3 separate regions of the Homo sapiens genome follow, and regions 2 and 3 are each linked to region 1. Evidence: promoter capture Hi-C in 16 types of primary human blood cells and fetal thymus (Javierre and others, 2016). All regions are on one chromosome and are shown on one strand. Each heading gives the region's core, a stretch centred on a gene start or on the middle of the fragment in contact. The rest is flanking DNA. Distances are from core to core; before and after follow the strand shown. Region 1 holds the start of S1PR5 (sphingosine-1-phosphate receptor 5). Region 2 holds the start of OLFM2 (olfactomedin 2). Region 3 holds the start of SPC24 (SPC24 component of NDC80 kinetochore complex).

Region 1 (3,459 bases), core at 886-3,385:
CCTGTAATCCCCGCCTGTAATCCCCCCAGGCTCAGGCCTGAGGCAGTGGCTCAGGCCTGGGAGGCCAAGGGGGGCAGATCACGAGGTCAGGAGATCGAGACCATCCTGGCTAACACGGTGAACCCCTCCGTCTCTGCTAAAAACACAAAAAATTAGCCAGGCATGGTGGCACGTGCCTGTAGTCCCAGCTACTCCAGAGGCTGAGGCAGAAGAATCATTTGAACCCAGGAGGCGGAGGTTGCAGTGAGCCGAGATCGCATCACTGCACTCCAACCTAGGTGGCAGAGCGAGACTCTGTCTCAAAACACCCCCCCTCCCCACCAAACACACACACGGCTGGGTGTGGTGGCTCACTCCTGTAATTCCAGCACTTTGGGAGGCTGAGGCGGGAGGATTGTTTGAGGCCCAGGAGTTCGAGATTAGCCTGGACAACATAGGAGAACCCCGTTTCTACAAAAATTAGCCGGGACGTGTTGGTGTATGCCTATAGTCCAAGCTACTCAGTGGAGTCCCAGCTGAGGTGAGAGGATCACTTGAGCCCGCGGGGTCAAGGCTGCAGTCAGTGAGCATTGATTGTGCCACTGTACTCCAGCCAGGACAACAGAGCAAGACTTTGTCTCAAACACACACACACAAACACACAAGCAGGGAGTTCCAGAGACGTAACAGTAAACACACAGAACGCACACAAACGCAACACACACAGAAAGAGACACACAAATACAGCGACACACTACAAGGGCAAAACACACAGTCACACACTATCAGGGAAACTAAAAAATACATCATACAGGAACAGAGTGACGCAGGCAGAAAAACACAGCGACCAAAATTCAGTCACACGAATACAGGGTCTCCCACCCAGTGGCACAGGCCACAATTTCACAACCTCCACTCACACTAGCCTGGGGCCCAGTGCACCACACTCCACACTCTTGTCTCACTGCATACAAAGCTTTTTCCTGCCAAAACCCCCTCATCCACCCAAAACCCCATGAGAAAGTTGCTCCTTGGCCAGGCACAGTGGCTTTCGCCTGTAATCCCAGCACTTTGGGAGGCCGAGGTGGGAGTATCACTTGAGCCCAGGAGTTCGACACCAGCTTGGGCAACATACTAAGACTTCATCTCTACAAAAAAATTTAAAAATTAGCCAGGTGTGGTGTTATGCCCCTATAGTCCCAGCTACTCAAGAGACTGAGGCGGGAGGATCACTTGAGCCTGGGAGGCCGAGGCTGCAGTGAGCCATGATCGCACCCCTGCTCTCCAGCCTGGGTGACAAGAGAGAAACTCCGTCTCAAAAAAAAAAAAAAAAAAAAAAGTTGATCCTATTCACTCATTTTACTAAGGCAGAGCCTGAGGACAGGAGAGAGAATCCACAAGAGGCAAACAGACTCTTACAGAGGGGCACACATGTCATTAAACTGTAATAACACTCCTCACCTGCCTCTGTGACCTTATTAATCCCCACTTCCTTTAGTCCTAATTTACAGATGAGAAAACTGAAGCTCAAAAGAAATGCTTCGTATCGAAGCAGGCGCAAAGGTTTCCATGCTCCCACACAAACATCCATGCACAAATAGTCCCCATGCAAGTCCAGATGAGAAAGCCAAGGCCTGGGGAGGGGAATGGATCTCTTTTGCACAAGGCAGGGATGCGGACATCCCAGAGAGCTTCAGTCACACACAGAGAATCAAGGCAGGCAAACATAGACAGGAAGTCGCTGGCTCACCCATGCTGGAGGTGGGGAGCCCAAATACAGGGAGACAGGGTTACACATGCTCTGAGGGGGAGGCCAACCCCATCCGCCCAGCTTGCCCGGCAGCAGGACTGAAGTATGGAAACTTGCAGTGGCCCGGCCAGGAGGGGGTGGCCAGGGGATTCCAGCCACCTTCACCCCGTATCCCAGGTCCTGCACCCAGCTGGGGAGCCCCCAGCTTCCCCCTCCCCAGAGGCCTCCAGGAAAAGTTCGGAGAACTCCCTGCAAGGAGTGGTGCGCCTTTTTAGACCGGGAAAGTGGCCGCCAGGGCGACCCCCTCCGGGTCAGGCCCAGCCCAGCGCCCCCAAAGGTCCAGTGCAGTCCACTCACTCTGCGCCCTGGTCGTGCGCCACCCGCAGTCGCGCTGCCTTGAACCGAGTGAGCGGACGCCGCTCCGGGGGCGGGGCTGGAGCTGGCAGGCGAGGGGGCGGGCCAGCGACGCAAAGGGCCGGCGGTCGCCAGCAGTTGCCCCCTCCCCTTGGGTCCCGGGCACTCAGCCCATGGCTGCCAGCCTGTGCCACTCGCCGCGGCACCGGAGCGCGCCCCGGCGGCGACTGGCACAGGCGAGCCCTCAGCTGCCCCCTCCGGGCCTGGGCTGTCCTCCCAGGGACGCTCCATCGCGGTGGGAGGACTCGGAGAGGCGGGAAAGGGAGGGTTCTGCAGCAGGGCGGTCGCAGCCTGAGCCTCTTCTCCCCAGCGGAGGGGTCTCCTCTGTCCTGGGTGTCCGGGCACTGCGCCCTCCCATTGCCCACCCACCTGTGAACTGAGCTTCCTGGGCTGCACCCCAAGGACGCCCCGTCGATGATTCGGAGGGGTCTTCAGTGGGTTGCTTAGCAGGAGTCTTCAGTGGGGGCCACCTTAGCCTGAGTCCTCTCCCACCAGCAGATAGGTTCCCGCTGCTCCCGGGCACAGGCCCCTCCCAATTTCCCGCTCCCGCCCCCGGCTCAGGGCGAGTGGGGGTGGGGCGGGCCCGGGCAGGATTGTGATGGGAACTTGCCGCTCCTCAGATAAGGAGGGTCTCTCCTGTCCCACCCCCTGGATTCCGTGTTCCCCCGACCGATTCTCTCCCACCCTTATCGCTGACGACAAAGTGATTTACTCATTAATGGTGTTTCTGGGCTGTGTCCTTAGCAGACAGTAAACCCCAGCAATGTAAGAATTTCTTTTTTTTTTTTTTTTTTGAGACAAGATCTTGCTCTGTGGCCCAGAGTGGAGTGCAGTGGCAACATCATAAGTCACTGCAGTCTCGACCTCCGCGGCTCAAGCCATCCTCCCATCTCAGCCGGCTGAACGTAGCTGCTGGGACTCCAGTCGCTTGCAACCATGCCCAGATAATGAATGAGTGTCTCCCTCACTTCCTCTGTATCTCTCTCAGGAGGATCTCAGAGTCTCTCGCCTGCGTGTCTCTTTGTCTCTGCGTGTCTCTTTGCCTCTGCGTGTCTCTTTGTTGCTGTCTGTGATGCTCTCCCACGCCTCTCCCAGGCCACTGCTCCTCCAACGACCAGTCCCGCTGGCCCCGAAACGCCCCCACCCCGACTTCCCAGGAACTTCCAGACGGTCCCAGCTCTTCCACCCTCAGATTCAGGAAGGGAGGCTGGGTCCCGCTGCTGCGACCTTCTCCAGGACCGTGCCCTTTGCCCCTGATGCTTCAGGCCCTGCTGGCCGCGGGTGGGGTGAGGGCGCCCCAGGAGAGATGAGCCAGA
Region 2 (3,731 bases), core at 657-3,156, 580 kb before region 1:
GTTTCTCAAGTGTGTGCCTCTTTTGGTCTCTCGTCTCCCAGGTGTGTCTCTTGGCTTCTCTCAGGCTCACACATCCATTGAGTACCTATTGTGTGTGTCCTCATGCCTGGGGCTGGGCACACTCCCTATCCCACCCAGCGCGTGGGTGCTGAGATGCGTGGGGAAATGGAGGAGCGAGGGAGGGGACCCCACAATCTCTCCTCGTGGCCTGGAAATCCTTCTATCTGGAGTCTAACCTCCATTCCTCCCAACACCCCCCTCGGGGTGAGCACAAGGGTCTGATTCTTTTCTTGATAAGGGGAAGGTGCCCAAATTGTTTCTCCCCTGCCTATCTACCTAAAAGCCCACCTAGCAATGTCTTCACGGACGCTGTCCACACCCATGGAGCGGATTATTTAACAAGAGGGTAATCGTGTGGGCTCAGGAGCCGGACTGCCTCGGTTCAGTCCCACCTCTGTCACTCTCGAGCTTGAGCAAGTGATTTAACTTTTCTGCGCCTCAGTTTCCCCATCCATAAAATGAGGTAACAATACCATGCTCTAGTAGGGAGGAGGCAGAGGGGGTTAAATGCCTTAGTCTGTGCTGTGTGATTGAAACAGCACCTCTCAAATTAGCACGTAATGAATGATCACTGTTATCATAATGACTATTTTATTATTTTTGATCCCAGCTTCCCTGTGAACTCCTACAGATCTGAGAACTTGGGGGTGCTCTCACTCCCAAGATGGAGGAGGAGAGGGGCTTTCCAATAGCAAAAGAGAGCGTGGACGCCCCACATTTTGCAAGCCTCCCTGAGCCTGCCCAAGAGAAAGGTGCCATGGGGAGGGAGACCCGCTTCTGTAAGGGTATGAATGGCGTGTGCGGTTGTGAGCAAGGCACCAAGATACACACACACACGTGCATGGATGGACACGTTTGCACACACAGCGCTTGCACACACACACACCCTTTTAGAGTGATTTACCCAAAGGTACAGAATAGCACACGCTCACTCCAAGGCTCTCACACGGCCACACACCTGGCCACACACGTATTGTACAACACCCAGTCATCTGGAGCCAGTAATGAGGACACGGTCACACACAGACTCTGTCTCACGTACTGATCACACCCCAACTCGGGCACTAGTTGGACAAGCCCCCCAACCGCCACACACACAAACTCCCCCCGGTCACACCCAACCACGACACAAAGACACACACGTTTACCCTGCACCCCCACAGCATTTCACACGCGTCCCCGTCAGTCACTCTCACGTGAGTCCCGTCCCCTGCCCCACACTGGGGGCTGCAGGCGAGGAGTGGAGGGCTTCAGAAACTGGGCATCTCGGCCCCGAAGAGGAAGTCAAGGGTAAGCAACCGCCCCCCTCCAATGCCCCCTGAAGTTTCCCTCCCAACCCCATTCAGCTCCAGCGAGATGGCGGGGTGGGGGCTCGGGGCCATGGAGGGGTTGAGAACCCCAAAGACGCCACCCCCCAAACCAGCCCAGCTTGAGGCTGGATTTGAAGCCCCCCTCGTCCTCTCCCAAGCCAGAGAGTGCACGTCCCGGCCCCTCCCCCGCTGCGACCCCCGCCCCTCGCCGCCCTGCAGCTGGGGGGGCTTGTGGAGCCTCCCAACCCCGTTTCTCCGGGAACCCTCCGCGCCCCCCTCCTCTCCCGGAGCCACCCGCGCCCGCACCTGCCCGCCGGGCCCCTACCTGTCCGGCCAGGCCTGAGCACAGCAGCAGCAGCAGCGGCGGCGGGACCGTGAGCGGCCACATGACGCGCCCCTAGCCCGGCGTCCCGACCCCCGCCCGCCCTAGCGGCGCCTCGGCGCGGGGACCGCCACCAGGCGCGACCCCGCCCGCCCGGCCGGGGCGACCCTGCGCCGCCGCCTCCCCCGCCTCGCCGGCGGCCGGGATTCCGCCCCACCCCCGCCCCCTCGCTCGCTCCGAGTCTTTGTTGCGGGCTCCGCCCCCCGCCCCGCCCCCAGCTCCTCTTCGGGAGCAGCTCGAGCAGGGTCGGGTGGGGGGGTGGGGGCGGGGAAGTGGGGGAGCCAGCGCCGGCGAGGGGACCTGAGGACAGGACTTGGCAGCGCCCCCCAACCCCCAGGCCATTCCGGGAGCGGGTCGCGGAGGTGGGGGAGGGGTGCCCGTCACGTGTTTGTAAATTTCACCCTCCGGGGGCATTTCCCACGTTGCAGGTGGGACGGGGACGAATGGTTGGGGGAGAGGAATAGGAGGAAGGCCTGGTAGCAGAGAGGGGAAATGATGAACGCCCCCTCCCTAAAAACTCAAGAGTCAACAGGGAAACTGAGGCAGAATCTGAAATTGGAAGTTGGAGGAGGGGTCAATGCCAGGACAAGAGGGGTGAGGCATAGATGGAGACGGGGAATAAGAGGAAAAAATTGAGGTTGGGGGGACAGGAGACCGAGAATCAGGCAAGAGGCCAATGGAAATGGCCACGTGGGTGGGCTTGGCCTCAAAAAGGGGCGTCTCGTTTTCACTCTCCCCGGGCGCCCCATTTCCCCACCAGTCCTCCCGCTGGAAGCCTCCCCGCCTCCGCCACACCTGGAAGAGTTTCTCTTCGCTCCCTGTTTCAATAGCCCAAGATGAAAGACCACATCCCCCGAGAGAATCAAAATATTAACACCGCCTCCACGCGAAGCCATTTGCATATGAAGGGCGTCCTTGTCTAGCCTCACTTTCGGGAGGCTTTCCAGCCTTTCTCTGCCTCTCACTCCTCCAAAAGTCTCCCTAGGCCGGGCGCGGTGGCTCACGCCTGTAATTCCAGCAATTTGGGAGGCTGAGGAGGGTGGATCATCTGAGGTCAGGAGTTCAAGACCAGCCTGGCCAACATGGCAAAACCCCACCTCTACTAAAACATACAAAAATTAGCCGGGCGTGGTGGTGCATGCCTGGAATCCCAGCTACTCGGGAGGCTGAGACAGGAGAATCGCTTGAACCCGGGAGGCAGAGGTTGCAGTGAGCAGAGATCGTGCCATTGCACTCCAGCCTGGGCAACAGGAGCAAACCTTGTCTCAAAAAAAAAAAAAAAAAAAAAGTGTCCCTAGTCGTCTTTCCTCCCCACAGCCCCTCTAGGGATTCGGATATATGTAGGCAGAGGTGGAGGAGGGGGGCGGGCAAATAAGTCAGATTGGAAAGAAATCGGGCATAAAATATGCGAGGCCAGGAAGCCTGGCATTTTTGTGACCCTGATACTGTTGGGCTAGGAGGGGTCTCCCCAGACGCTGGTGGGGCCTCGACCCCAGCTGGTGTCCAGGCTCTTAACACCATCGCAAGAATGAATTCAAGGAGGAATCAGAAAATCATGAAAAGTTCGGAGATTTTTTTGTTAAGGGAAAAGTCCACACTTGAGAAAAGGGAGTGGGCGTACTTAAGAGAGAGAGATGGGCAAGGTGGTTTGGGACTGCTACCTTTATGTGTCTCTTTTTTTTTTTTTTTTTTTTTTTTTTTGAGACAAAGTCTCGCTCTGTCACCCAGGCTGGAGTGCAGTGGTGTGATCTCGGCTCACTGCAACCTCTGCCTCCCAGGTTCAAGCAATTCTCCTGCCTCAGCCTCCTGAGTAGCTGGGATTACAGGTGTGCGCCATCACAGCCGGCTAATTTTTTGTGTTTTTAGTAGAGACAGGGTTTCACCATATTGGCCAGCCTGGTCTCAAACTCCTGACCTCGTGATCCACCCGCCTTGGCCTCCCAAAGTGCTGAGATTACAGGCGTGAGCCACCACAACAG
Region 3 (3,644 bases), core at 451-2,950, 640 kb after region 1:
AAAAAATACAGTCTTGAAGAGATATTTGGGCACCCGTGTTCATAGCAGCGTTATTCAACACAGCCAAAAGGTGGATACAACCCAAGTGCCCATGGATGGATGAATGAATAAACACAATGCGGTCCATCCTTCTATATCATGAAATATGACTCAGCTTTAAAATGGACGGAAATTCTGGCCAGGCGTAGTGGCTCACCCCTGTCATCCCAGCACTTTGGGAGGCCGAGGTGGGCGATCACTTGAGGCTGGGAGTTTAAGACCAGCCTAGCCAACATGGTGAAACCCCATCTCTACTAAAAATACAAACATTAGCTGGGCATGGTGGCGCATAAGTGTGTTCTCAGCTACTTGGGAGGCTGAGGTGGGAGGATCACTTAAGTCTGGGAGGCAGAGGTTGCAGTGAGCCAAGATCACACCACTGCATTCAAGCCAGGGTAATGGAGCGAGGCTCTGTCTCACAGTAAGTACACAAAATGAAAGGAAATTCTGATACAGGCTATGACATGGATGAACCTGGAGGACATTATGCTCCATGAAATAAGCCAGACACAAAAGGGTAGATATTGTATGATTCCACTAGGAAGGGTAGATATTGTACAATTCCTCGTAAGGTTCCTAGAGGAGTCAAATTTGAGACAGAAAGTAGAACCCTGGTGGGTGCCAGGGTCTGAGAAGGGGATGGGGAGTGAGTGTTTCATGGGGACAGAGCTTCAGTTTGGAAAGATGAGAAAGTTCTGGAGATGGATGATGGTGCTGATGGTTGCACAGCAGTGTGAATGTGCTTAAGGCCACTGAACTGTGCAGTTACAGATAGTGAAGATGGGCCGGACACAGTGGCTCACGTCTGCAGTCCCAGTACTTTGGGAGGCTGAGGCAGGCAGATTACCTGAGGTCAGGAGTTTGAGACCAGCCTGGCCAACGTGGTGACCCCCCGTCTCTACCAAAAATACAAAAATTAGCCGAGTGCGGTGGCAAGCGCCTGTAATCCCAGCTACTCAGGAGGCTGAGGCAGGAGAATAGCTTGAACCCGGGAGGTGGAGGTTGCGGTGAGCCCAGGGCCTGGCAGCAGCAGATGCTCCATAAAACATCTGAATGCCTTCAGGAAGAAGGGATGGGCTATTGTCACAACCATTTGACAAGGAAGGAAGCTGAGGCACAGAGAATTTAAGAAACTCACCTCAAGTCTCACAGCGGACATGGGGATGGGTGCTAGGATTCAAACCCGGAGCTTTGACTCCTGAGCCCCAGTTCAAACCCTGAGACCCCCAGCTCCTGCTCACGGAGAGCTCAGAAGGGGCCAACCCCTCCAGACTCCTATATTTACCACTAAACCCCTGGGGGGTGGGGGATGGTTGCTGTCATAAAGCCGATTTCTCAGATGGTGAAACTAAGGCTCAGAGGGGGCCGTCCCAGGGGGCATAGGGCAGGAGATGGGAGAGTCCAGGAGAGAAGGGGTTTTGAGGTGGGCCTGGTCGCCCCCTCCCAGCACCCGGGCCCCTTCCCCCGTGGGCCCGCGACCACGCTCCGACCCTCACCTCGCAGCTGCTTCTCGGCACCGTCTTGCGTTTCCAGCAGCCGCTCCACCACCTGCTCGTGGCGCCCCAGCAGCCGTCGCTGCTGCGCCTCCGCGCGGTTGGCGCCCAGCAGGCTGAGCAGCCCCTGGCTCACCTCCTCTATGTCGCGGAAGGCGGCCATGACTACGCCAGGCTCCAACCCGCGCAAATTTGACTGTCCGCGGGGCCCGCCCTCTTCCAGAAGAGGTTGCTTTCCATTGGATTTTTTGATACGTCAGTCATAAGCAATGGCCAATAGGCATGGGGAACAGGATCTTAGACTGGGCTAAGCCGCCTTTGGTCTGGCCTGGTGCGCCTGCGACCACTCCTCCGTCAGTCATCGGTGATGACCAATCGGCGCAGGAAGGGGGAGGCTCCGTTATCCTTCCCGATGCGCCTGCGCGGGAGAGAAAGCGGCTGTTTATTTCTCCATAGGTCGAGCGCTTGCTCTGTGCAGGGTGGGGTTCTAACGGCAAAGCAGCGAGCAGCTTCTCCTGGAACTTACATCCTACAGTGTGTGCGTGGGATACACAATAAGCATAGAGAATAAGTAGATTCTATGAGAGGCTGCATAGCAAAATGGCGTCTGCAGCCAGATTTACTGGGTTCGAATCCCAGCGTTGCCACTTACTAGCTGTGTTACCCTGGACAGACTTCACCTCTCTGTGCGGTACTTTCCTCCTTAGTAAAATGAGGGTCATACTAGTGCCTGTGTCAGCGTTGGCGTGAGAATTCTTCTTATTACTTTTTTTTTAGAGACAAGGTATTGCTCTGTCACCCAGGCTGAAGTGCAGTGCCACAATCATAGCTCATTGCAACTTCGACCTCCTGGCCTCCAGCAATCCTCCTGCCTCCGCCTCCCAAAGTGCTGGGATTACAGGCGTGAGCCACCGAGCCCAGCCTGGCGTGATAGTGTCTCCTATTCAGTAGGTGCTATATAGTTGTTTAATGAAACATACATAGAATCCTAGCATGTAGCTGGGTGCAGTGGCTCACGCCTGTAAGTCTGAGCTCTTTGGAAGGCTAAGACAGGAGGATCGCTTGAGCCCTGGAGTTTGAGACTAGCCTGTCTCAAAACAAAACAAAACAAAGAAAAGATCAGTGCTGACTCTAAGGTGCTGGTTCCATGCTAGACACTGGTATTTCTGCAAGAAACAAGATGTTAAGATGGCATCTTTTTTTCTTTCTCTCTCTTTTTTTTTAAGACAGAGTCTCACTCTGTTGCCCAGGCTGGAGTGCAAGGCATTCCAGCCTGCTTCCTGGGTTCAAGGCATTCTCCTGCATCAGCCTCCCGAGTAGCTGGGATTACAGGTGCCCGCCACCGCACCCAGCTGATTTTTTGTATTTTTAGTAGAAACGGGGTTTCATTATGTTGGCCAGGTTGGTCTTGAACTCCTGACCTCGTGATCTGCCTGCCTCAGGCTCCCAAAGTGCTGGGATTATAGGCGTGAGCCACCGCGCCTGGCGTGGCAACATTTTTATGTGTGCTACCACCTAAAGAACATCTCATTGCTTTCCTATGATTTTTTTTTCTTTTCTTTTCTTTTCTTTTTTTTTTTTCTTGAGACAGAGTTTCGCTGTTGTTGCCCAGGCTGGAGTGCAATGGCGCGATCTCAGCTCACTGCAACCACCACCTCCCAGGTTCAAGTGATTCTCCTGCCTCAGCCTCCCGAGTAGCTGGGATTACAGGCATGCGTCACCATGCCCAGCTAATTTTGTATTTTTAGTAGAGACGGGGTTTCTCCATGTTGGTCAGGCTGGTCTTGAACTCCCGACCTCAGGTGATCCACCTGCCTCGGCCTCCCAAAGTGCTGGGATTACAGGCGTAAGCCACTGTGCCCGGCCTTCTTTTCTTCCTTCTTTTTTTTTTTTTTTTTTGAGATGGGGTCTTGTTCTGTCCCCCAGGCTGAAGTGCAGTGGCTCAGGTGATCCTTTCATTTCAACCTTCCAAGTAGCCGGGACTACAGGTGTGTGTCACCCTTTGGTGCCTGAGAGCATGGCTTCTTGAACCAGCTGTGTAATGTTGGCATAGACCTCACTTCTTTGTGCCTAAAGGCAGTGAATAACAATTAGGCAGAGTGAAATCAAGAG

The links. Contacts are between HindIII fragments. The CHiCAGO score rates a contact against its expected background, and 5 or more counts as called.
Region 2: the fragment with the promoter of OLFM2 here is called in contact with the fragment with the promoter of S1PR5 in region 1 in 3 of 17 cell types (total B cells, fetal thymus and activated CD4 T cells); the score reaches 6.7 in total B cells.
Region 3: the fragment with the promoter of SPC24 here is called in contact with the fragment with the promoter of S1PR5 in region 1 in 1 of 17 cell types (neutrophils); the score reaches 7.0 in neutrophils.

The regions. Positions count from the first base shown.
Region 1 is chr19:10,515,312-10,518,770 of GRCh38, forward strand. It overlaps S1PR5 (sphingosine-1-phosphate receptor 5), which reads right to left and starts at 2,136. Exons shown (of 2, transcript NM_030760.5): 1 at 2,087-2,136. RefSeq lists enhancers at 1-19, 20-613. The HindIII fragment of the contact is 9,669 bases long and covers 954-3,459 here.
Region 2 is chr19:9,934,609-9,938,339 of GRCh38, forward strand. It overlaps OLFM2 (olfactomedin 2), which reads right to left and starts at 1,907. Exons shown (of 6, transcript NM_058164.4): 1 at 1,696-1,907. The coding sequence starts at 1,758. RefSeq lists enhancers at 1,163-1,757, 2,424-2,926. The HindIII fragment of the contact is 5,720 bases long and covers 1-3,731 here.
Region 3 is chr19:11,154,082-11,157,725 of GRCh38, forward strand. It overlaps SPC24 (SPC24 component of NDC80 kinetochore complex), which reads right to left and starts at 1,701. Exons shown (of 5, transcript NM_182513.4): 1 at 1,536-1,701. The coding sequence starts at 1,695. RefSeq lists a silencer at 1,658-1,817. The HindIII fragment of the contact is 19,008 bases long and covers 1-3,644 here.